3 separate regions of the Homo sapiens genome follow, and regions 2 and 3 are each linked to region 1. The links are contacts of gene promoters, found by promoter capture Hi-C in blood cells and fetal thymus (Javierre and others, 2016). All regions are on one chromosome and are shown on one strand. The core of a region is centred on a gene start or on the middle of the fragment in contact, and the rest is flanking DNA. Distances in the headings are between cores, read along the strand shown.

Evidence for each region. The method cuts DNA at HindIII sites, captures the fragments that hold promoters and counts their contacts. A CHiCAGO score of 5 or more calls a contact.
Region 2: a contact is called between a fragment that was not itself captured here and the fragment with the promoter of DMRT1 in region 1, in 1 of 17 cell types (monocytes). The highest score is 5.5, in monocytes.
Region 3: a contact is called between a fragment that was not itself captured here and the fragment with the promoter of DMRT1 in region 1, in 3 of 17 cell types (total B cells, fetal thymus and total CD8 T cells). The highest score is 5.4, in total B cells.

What each region holds. Positions count from the first base shown.
Region 1 is chr9:839,580-842,946 of GRCh38, reverse strand. DMRT1 (doublesex and mab-3 related transcription factor 1) reads right to left here and starts at 1,250. Exons shown (of 5, transcript NM_021951.3): 1 at 755-1,250. The coding sequence starts at 1,108. The HindIII fragment of the contact is 3,804 bases long and covers 1-2,834 here.
Region 2 is chr9:602,040-605,406 of GRCh38, reverse strand. The region is part of intron 1 of KANK1 (KN motif and ankyrin repeat domains 1); the gene reads right to left. Among named protein-coding and RNA genes, the nearest start is that of KANK1-AS1, 82 kb to the left of the region's middle. The HindIII fragment of the contact is 5,861 bases long and covers 1-3,367 here.
Region 3 is chr9:619,109-622,475 of GRCh38, reverse strand. The region is part of intron 1 of KANK1 (KN motif and ankyrin repeat domains 1); the gene reads right to left. Among named protein-coding and RNA genes, the nearest start is that of KANK1-AS1, 65 kb to the left of the region's middle. RefSeq lists an enhancer at 1-1,139. The HindIII fragment of the contact is 3,244 bases long and covers 105-3,348 here.

The DNA of each region.
Region 1 (3,367 bases), core at 1-2,500:
GCGGGAGCGAAGATCCTGAAGACTCCTCTAGCGCAATAAACCCTCCCAATTCTGTTGGAACGCGGGCTCTGGGATCGCGGGGAAGCCCAGAGGGGCGAACCCCGGAATTCCCTGCCCTGAGAGCGGGATCAGGGATCTCAGGGACCCGGGAGCAGAGGGAACCCCCGCAACTCCGCCGAAACACAGGGTGAGAGATCGTGGGGAACCCCGAGCCGAGCGAAGCCCGCAACTCTGCCCGGCGGGCGGGATCAGACGCGTCTCCGGCGCTCCCAGACCGGCGATGTAGCGTGGCCGGGAGCCCAGGACCCCAAGCGCCGCCGCTGTCGGCAAGTACCGCCGCATCTCTCCACAACCCAGGACCCGCATGGCAACGGCCATGCTGGGGGGACTTCATTCAAGAAACTCGGGCCCCGCCGGGAGCGGTGGCCCACGCCTGTAATCCCAGCACTTTGGGAGGCCGAGGCGGGTGGATCACCTGAGGTCAGGAGCTCGAGACCGGCCTGACCAATATGGTGAAACCCCCGTCTCTACTAAAAATACAAAAATTAGCCGGGCATGGTGGTGTGCGCCTGTAGTCCCAGCTACTTGGGAGGCTGAGGCAGGAGAATTGCTTGAACCCGGGAAGCGGAGGTTGCAGTGAGCCAAGATCGCGCCACTACACTGCAGCCTGGGCAACCGAGCGAGACTCCATCTAAAAAAAAAAAAAAAAAAAAAAACTAAGGCTGAACCCGGGCTCCCGCACGCCCGCACCCACCTGCGCGGCCATCACGCGCTGCCTCTCGGCGATCAGGTTGCACTTCTTGCACTGGCAGTCGCGCCACATGCAGAAGCGCTTGTGGCCCTTGAGCGGCGAGGCGTAGCCGTGGTTCCTGCAGCGTGCGCACTTGGGCAGCCGCGGGGACTTCTTGCTCCCGGCACCCAGGTCCGACGCCCCGGAGCCGGAGCCGCCTCCTCTGCTGCTGCCCCCGGCGCTCGAGCCGCTGGCCGCCCCCACTAGCGCCCCAGACGCTTTGCCAAAGCCCCCGGCTCTGCCCTGCGGCGGTACCCCGGGGGCGTGAGGGGCTTCCGACGGTGTAGAGGGCTTGCTGAATGCCTCGTCGTTGGGCATGGTGCCCCTAGGAGAAGTGCGAGCACTCTGGCCCCCTCTCTCGCCTGGAGACTGCTGCGAGGGATGAACCCGACGGACAGCGACGCTCCGGAGGAGGAGGCGCAGGAGACGTGTGCGCTGCAGCCGGAGGCGCAGCTGGAGTGGCGAGGTCTGGGCACGCCACGCCCGGAGTGGTGGGGGGTTGTGCCTTTTCTTTTGGCGCGCGCGCGACTCAGAACTTTCGGATACTTTTCAGAACATTCCCGGGACTGCCTGGGAGGGAGCGTGGCCACGCCCACCGCCCCCCGACTCCAGCCACCGCTCTCCAGCTGCTTGCAAACTTGCACCGGCTGCAAGCATCCAGGGCTTTGCTGCAGGGTCCCTGCAAGCGCACCGAGAGATACAGAGCGGCCTGGGAATCGCGTGGCACCCCTCGCCCCGCTCTCGGAGGCGCCAAGACCCGGTTGCCAAAGCACGGTGCACCGAGGAAGCTGGGCTCCCCAGGTCAAGACCAGAGCCGTGCTTGCATGCTTAGAGGAGGTGCAAACCACCCTATGGGGTCTTCTAGCTCCCTTTCCCCCAGAGAGACGCACCAGATTTGATAGAGCCGACCTTGGCAGCAGCCAAGTCAGAAAAAAATTTTTTTTCTCGCTTAAGAGAATTAAATATGAGGTGGAAGGCCTGAGAAATTTATAGGGTAAATCAGAGTTGCCCTATATACGGCAAAGAAGATCCTCAGTGTTGGGGCACAAGCACTTCAAAAATCTCAAAGGTTGGAACTTTCTGTTCTCCGTTTATCCCTTCCTGCACCTGTCTTCATTTGCTCACAACACTTCTACCTCCTTCGCTCCAAATAACTTTACGATCTACTGTTGCAGCCCGTGTTCCCGTTCACTTCAGGTGCATATAGCTTCTTGTCTGTGAGGCTGTTTAAACTTAGACTCTGCAGGCACGGGAAACTCAAACTTAAAAAGAAACATATGTATTAAAAAAAACTGAGGTTGTGGGGGGTGGTTACACAGATGTAGAAATGTATCAAAACTCATTCTACACTTCATATCTTGCATTTTACAGTATGTCATTATACCTCTACACACACACACACACACACACACACACACACACACACACACACCCCTGGCTCGATCATCTTACAGCCTGTCCCAGGGTTCTCATCCTGAACTCCCGCCCCAGCCATGCCTGTGTCCTCTCTGCACCTGCACAACAAATGTATCCCTAAGGCCTGCTGAGCAGTTCTTCCTACACACCCACGTGCCCCCCTAAGGCCAGCCCTTCACCTCAAGTCTGAATCTCTGCGGTAGCTCCCAGCTGCTATCTCCATGTCTTAGTCTTCCGGTATATTCTATACACACAGCAGGGGGCCCCAGCAGTACTTTGCTATTGTTTTCCATGTTAACAAGTTAAAGACCCCGGAGTGGCTCTTAATGCACTTTGAATGCTCCTTATTTTCCACCAGCACTGGTACTCACCTTCAGGATCCTGGGCCGCCTCCAGACCTAGGGGATTATTTCTCCAAAGAGGCATGGTCACCCTGTTCAACTTCTCATCAAAATGGTTGTACTGTGGCCACCTCTTTCAGCAGTTTGGTGTTTTCAGCACTGAGTTCTGAAATCCTCGAATCTGCCTTTGGAGCTCTAATTCTGAGGCCTCTCTCACAGGCCCTTTCCCTCAGTCTGAAATTTCTCCATTAGTATTCTCTGTCTGAAAATTACTTCCAAAAGAAGCTTCTAGCTTTACACAGCACCTCATACCCTACCTGTGAAACCAGTGAAGCTCTACTCCTGACAGGAGCTAGGATGCAACAATCTATTCCATCCTGGAAACTTATAAATGATAACCACTTAAATCTTCCATTAAAACAATCTTCCATTAAAACACGCATGTCAATTGCTGTTATCCAATATTTATGTTCTTTTTCCAGATTTATATTTTATTTATTTAATTTTTAGAGATAGAGTCTTGCTCTGTTGCCTGGGCTAGAGTGCAGTGGCACAGTCATAGCTCACTGTAGCCTCCAGTTTCTGGGCTAAAGGGATCCTCCTGCCTCAGCCTTCCAAGTAGCTGGGACTAGAAGCATGTGCTACCACGCCAAATTTTTTTTTTTTTTTGAAATGGAGTCTCGCACTGTCACCCAGGCTGGAGTGCAGTGGCGCGATCTCAGCTCACTGCAAGCTCCGCCTACCGGGTTCACGCCATTCTCCTGCCTCAGCCTCCCAAGTAGCTGAGACTACAGGCGCCTGCCACCATGCCCGGCTAATT
Region 2 (3,367 bases), core at 365-2,864, 240 kb after region 1:
TTCATCTGAATTCAGAGCTTAACATATGGCTAAGCAAATGCTTTACTATCTGAGAGTGATTATCTTTCCTCATGGCTAGTATTAGATTTTTTTTTTTTTTTTTTTTGAGACGGAGTCTCACTTTGTTGCCCAGGCTGGAGTGCAGTGGTTCAATCTGGGCTCACTGCAACCTCTGCCTCCCACGTTCAAGTGATTCTCCTGCCTCAGTCTCCTAAGTAGCTGGGATTACAGGCGCGTACCACCACACCCAGCTAATTTTTCTATTTTTAGTAGAGACAGGTTTCATCATGTTGGTCAGGCTGGTCTCAAACTCCTGACCATGTGATCTGCCTGCCTCGGCCTCCCAAAGAGCTGGGATTACAGGCGTGAGCCACCACTCTCAGCAGGAGGTTTCTATTAAAAACAAATGAGATGGTATTTGCAAACTGTCAGACATTGCCCAATTGCATTAGTCCATTTTCACACTGCTATAAAGAACTACCTGAGACTGAGCAATTTATGAAGAAAAAAGGTTTAATTGACTCACAGTTCTGCATGGCTGGGGAAGCCTTAGGAAACTTACTATTATCATTATTTTTTGAGAGAGTCTCACTCTGTTACACAGGCTGAAGTGCAGTGGCACAATCTTGGCTCACTGTAACCTCCATCTGTCAGGTTCAATCGATTCTCCTGCCTCAGCTTCCCGAACAGCTGAGATTACAGGTGTGCGCCACCCGCCCGGCTAATTTTTGTTTTTTCAGTAGAGACAGGTTTCGCCATGTTGGCCAGACTGGTCTTGAACTCCTGACCTCAAGTGATCTGCCCGCGTTGGTCTCTCAAAGTGCTGGGATTACAGGTGTGAGCCACTGCACCCGGCCAGGAAACTTATAATCACGGTGGAAGGCCAAGGGGAGGCAAGGACCTCTTCTTCACATGACAGCAGGAGAGACAGAGAGAGACATGGGTGCAAGGGTGAAACTGCCAAACACTTTTAAACCATTAGATCTCATGAGAACTCCCTCGCTATCAGGAGGACAGCATGGGGTAAACCATCCTCATGATCCAATCACCTCCCATCAGGTCCCTCCCTCAACACGTGGGGATTACAATTTGAGATGAGATTTGGGTAGGGACACACAGCCAAACCACATCACCAGTACAATGTCTGACACATAGTGCTCATTCAATAAATGGTCATTATTAGAATCATCATTATTGTTTACCACGTCTCCAGGAAAGAGACAAATTTAAGGACCAGAATAATCAGAACAATAACGTATTTGGTACTTTGAATATCAGCTGTAACATTAATCTTAGACACTAATTTATTATGAACTGGTACCCCAACTTTTTGCTGAAATCACTGACACTCCATTCTCCTCCCCAAACATAAAGTGAATGAAAAAACAAAGACAAAGAAACCAAGCATGGTAAGGCCAAAATAATTTTACTTTTTTTTTTTTTTTTTTGAGACAGAGTCTTGCTCTGTCACCCAAGCTGGAATACAGTGACGTGATCTTGGCTCACTGCAACCTCTGCCTCCCGGGTTCAAGTGATTCTCCTGCCTCAGCCTCCAGAGTAGCTGGGACTATGGCGCACACCACCACACCCAGCTAATTTTTGTATTTTTAGTAGAGACGGGGTGGGTTTCGCCACATTGGCCAGACTGGTCTCGGACTCCAGACCTCAGGTGATCCGCCCGCCTCGACCTCCCAAAGTCCTGGGATTACAGGTGTAAAGCCACCATGCCTGGCCTACATTTTTTAGAAGAGAAAAATTCAAACGAGTATATTAATTAATGATAGAATCTAAGTAAAATATTTTGCTGTTCTAGAACTAGGGAAAGGTAAGGAAAAAGATGATTTTAGAGTTAAGGAACTGTTAAGAGTAAGAATTACTGAATGTCAATGTGATGTCTCTCTGCATAACTAGGTCTAAAGGCACCAAGAATATGACTTACATTACTAACCTTTACATTAGATGGAAGACACACAAACTGCTCTTAGTGAATTCTTCTGGCTGAGTTATCATACTATGATTAGCTATCAAAGCTACTTCAAGTTCTTATTGCTGCAAAGATAATTTACACATTCAGGGTCAAAGTCAGCCAGCCACGTTTCTGAACTGAAAACAATTCAATACTAGGCTTTATCTGCCAGTTGAGATTTGTGCCACACTCTGACACATTTAACATCATCTCCAAATTAATGTGCCCCAGGGATGGGATGAGTAGGGAAATTTCTTACACAATGCCACGGTCCAGAGGAAAAACATCCTTGAAAAAGATTCATCTTTCAAATCCTGATATAAATCTACTCTTAGATCTATATTCCAAAAGAGAATAAGAGACTCTTTCCCCATATGTAAGAAACAGGTGGTAAGGCCCACAAATGAGCTCTGAAGTAGAACAAAACGCTAAGGAAGATAATTATCACTGTGGATAAATATGATTTGTAACTATGATAACCCCATCAGCCACACGTGGAATGTGCCTTGACTGCATGTTTGGTTTTCACAGAAATAGCTCTTCAAGAGTTGAGATGTAATAGCAAAAATATGAAAAATTACAAAGGAGTCATGCTGGAATCTCATCTAAACAAGATCTATTTTGCAAGAACTAAAAGCGCAGTCAAAAGAAGTTATACTGAATCATCAAGGAGAACAGGCTTTCAATCTAAAATATTTTGTCAATGTCCTCTGACCGTAAAGACTTCACACATAAAATTATAAGGACAAAAATAACTTATCAAAAGTTTATGCAAAAAGAGTTACTTTATTATAGGATGATGAATCTGTAGTTACACATTGTAAATCCAGGTATTTACCTCTATAACTAACCAAAAGATATTCTCATTAAAATATGGAATGGGGGCCGGGTGCAACAGCTCACACCTATAATCCCAGCACTTTGGGAGGCTGAGGCAGGCGGATCATGAGGTCAAGAGATTGAGACCATCCTGGCCAACATGGTGAAACCACATCTCTACTAAAAATACAAAAATTAGCTGGGCATGGTGGTGCATGCCTGTAGTCCCAGCTACTTGGGAGGCTGAGGCAGGAGAGTCGCTTGAACCCAGGAGCGGGAGGTTGCAGTGAGCCAAGACCACACCACTGCACACCAGCCTGGCAACAGAGCGAGACTCCGTCTCAAAAAATAAAATAAAATAAAATAAATAAAAATGGAATGGGCTAAAAATGAGAGTCAGAAACTCAGGAATAGTTATTGAAGGAATGTCAAAAATGTCTGGATGCTAATGCTATCCTATCAATGTAAAAGTATTTTTCCACAAAAAGTTAATCTATTCCATTGATAAAGAACCTATTTTTCTACAGGGTATGTGCATTGATTTTAACAACTCAACATTAAGTGATCAAAATGACTTTACAT
Region 3 (3,367 bases), core at 477-2,976, 220 kb after region 1:
ACCCTTGTCAGGATGCTTCTATGCAATCCTCCAGGTACGTACTAGATCCATCTGACATTTAGGTCATTATGCATTTATCATTTACTCCCACTGGATTTTAAGCTTCTTTCCAGGGCAGTGACCATGACTTATTTATCCTGTAGCAGTCTTTCACCACACCTAGAGCAGTGCCCCAACACACAGCGCTTAAGAAGAGCATGAAGTGACAATATACACAGATTATTAACTTCTTTGTGCTCCAAGGGAAGTCTTTTATGGATACTAAAAGTAGAAGTCATTAGTTCCAAATAAATTTAAACAGGTTTCAGGTATTCTTCTACTGACCGAAATTAGACCATTCCTTGTCCCCCTTTTCCTTCCATCCCTTATAAATTCCCATGACACAACAAACGAACAAAAGCTCTAAAAGTAGACTGTTGTATGAAAAAGACCCTGAACCTATCAGTTTAAAGAAAACCTGGAAAAATTTTTAATGAAAACCAAACTTAGTATCTTTTCTTCTCCTCTTCCCTCCTTCCTTCCCAAGAGGCTTCGGCAGCACCAGGGCTCCCCAGAACAAACCAAAGCCCTTTGGTGGAGCATTTGGATTTCATCTCCCATCTGGACTGTACCCCTTCCACCGGCGAGGGCAAAGTTCACATGTGAAGTCTACAGAGTAAGATGCCATGATGGGTAATGTGGGGATTCAGGAACAAGCGAGTGAGTAAGCAGGGCTGGAAACTGAGATTTGAGCTGCGTTTGTGGTAGGCTCTGCTTACGAGATGGGAGGGCAACCCATGCTCTTGCTGAGAGCGAAGGAAAGAGGAACTCACCACTGGCTGGAGGAATGTCCACTCGTCATGGGAAGGCAGAAATGGATTATCAAGTTTCAGACTTAGAAAACAAAGAAAAACTCTAATTGCGGACATTCCTTGCAGTTTAAGATCAGGGTAAATATACCAATACAAAATTACTGGGGTCAAAGGCTTTTGTATGTGTGGTTTTTTCCCGCAGTAATGGGTCACTTGATCAGAAATCCCTGTGTGAACTCACTTTTTTTTGGTAATGATGACATGAGAATTTCCACACTTGCCAAGTCAGTATTACGTGGAACTGAAACCAGACTCAGTGCATATGAAGACTTTGCTCACACTTGTTTTTACTACAGTCAGCAATGCTTCATAAGGCCAAATTTAATGATGTAATTTTGGCAGAGCTAATATAAATAGCTCAAAATTATTAATTTACTTTTGGTTGCAATTATTAACCAATATGTATGTTATGTGATAGCTATCAGTTTTCTATTTACCTTTATTAGGTGAGGCCCCAAAGAAAAATTTTTAGCTAAATATATTAGGTTCTCCAAAGGGTCAGGAAAGGAGCCTGAAAACAGAGAAGAGACTGAATTGAATAGCTTAGATTTCTAGTACTGGGCATTCTGAAAGCGTTTTGGCAATTTATCCCCTAAAAAAGAATTTAGATCAGATGGGAGATAATAAATTAGAGAATTTGATTCAAGAGGCTTAACTCTGGTTAATCAAATGATGACTAATTTCCAATCTGGAATTTGATCAATTAGTAAACTGGTACCCCAAAATTGGTTAAGAGTAAAATTGTTAAGAGGGCTGTAGTCATTTTTAAAAGAGATGTTATTTCTTATTCCCAATCAAATCTTATATTGCTGAATTCTATTATGCTCCAATATTAAATTTTTAAAAGTTGGCTTTTTAAAAATTGGTTTTTAAAATTGGTTTTTGAAAATTTAAAAAGTTGGTTTTTAAAAATTTTTTTAATTTTTAAAAGTTGGCTCACGCCTGTAATCCCAGCACTCTGGGAAGCCAAGGCAGCTGGATCATGAGGTCAGGCATTTGAGACCAGCCTGGCCAACATAGTGAAACCCCATCTCTACTAAAAAAATACCAAAAAATTAGCCGGGTGTGGTGGCAGGCGCCCGTAATCCCAGCTACTCAGGAGGCAGAGGCAGGAGAATCGCTTGAACCTGGGAGGTGTAGGTTGCCGTGAGCCGAAATCACGCCATTCATTGTTCTCCAGCCCGGGTGACAGTGCGAGACTCCGTTCCAAAAAAAAAAATTATAATTATCACTATTTTGCTTTTCTCGCAAAGAATTACGTGTTGTTTACTATGGCCCAAGAAAGCAGGTTTTATTTAGGGGGCAGATCGTTGAAGAGTTAATGTCCTATTCCAAGACAGGGTGGGAAAGGAATGGATGTGATTAATGACACTGAGTAATAGAGGGTACGATGCACATTTTGGAAGACACCAGTGTACCTGACAAAGTTTTCTTGCCTGCCTAGACCTGAAATAGACAACTGAGAATACAACAAAACAATTTTTTTTTTTTTTAGATGGGAGTCTTGCTCTGTTGCCCAGGCTGGAGTGCAGTGGTGTGATCTTGGCTCAACCTCTGCCTCCGAGGTTCAAGCGATTCTCCTGCCTCAGCCTCCCTAGCAGCTGGGATTACAGGCGCACACCACCACACTAGGCTAATTTTCTTATTTTTAGTAGACACAGGGTTTTGCCATGTTGGCCAGGCTGGTCTCGAACTCCTGACTTCAGGTGATCTGCTCGCCTCAGACTCCCAAAATGCTGGGATTACAAGCGTGAGTCACTGCACCCAGCCACAACGAAAGAATTTAAACTAGCTAACTCTGCTTGGAAAAACAATCTCACCAGTGGAAGAGCCTGTTTAAAGTATTTAAAAATCATTGCAAATTATTAATATTTTAATGTTTCAACATCTTAATATAGGAATGTATTGCATATTAAATCCTTGAAAATTACAGTACGGCTGATCTACGAACATCTGCATTCTGCAGTCCGTGAGCACCCACAAGTCAAAGGTAAACTTTCTTGTGGATCATCACTTATCTTTATCACTCACTAGATGAATGCTGAAGAGCTATTATCATTATACAGTAGCAAAACTGGTTCCAAAAGAATGATGAATTCAGCTATTCTGAACTAATGTTGGCTCTTCTTTGCGTTAATACTCCCATGTTTTCAAAATTTAAAGCAACTGGGCCACCCAAATCTGACGATAGGCAAAGGGACAATTATACTCTACCCATCCCAAGAAAGAAGGTGCTCTCACATCAGCCTGTCCCTGATGCTGCTGCCCTAATTTAATACTGCTTTGTTCTCTTGCCCCCTCTTCTACCCAACTAGATAAACTAAACAGTGTGATGGTTTTAAGTACTGTGTGGCTTGAAATATAACATTTATACAAACTATTCTTGAGGCACAAATAAGAGGCCTCTCTGAAATTCAAAAGCACTGTAGCTCTCCCCTGTTCCTTTTAAGTATTGGCTGTAAAGCAAGAACTGAGGATTCAGAACTACAAGGAAGCTTTTAACTGACCTGGGTAAG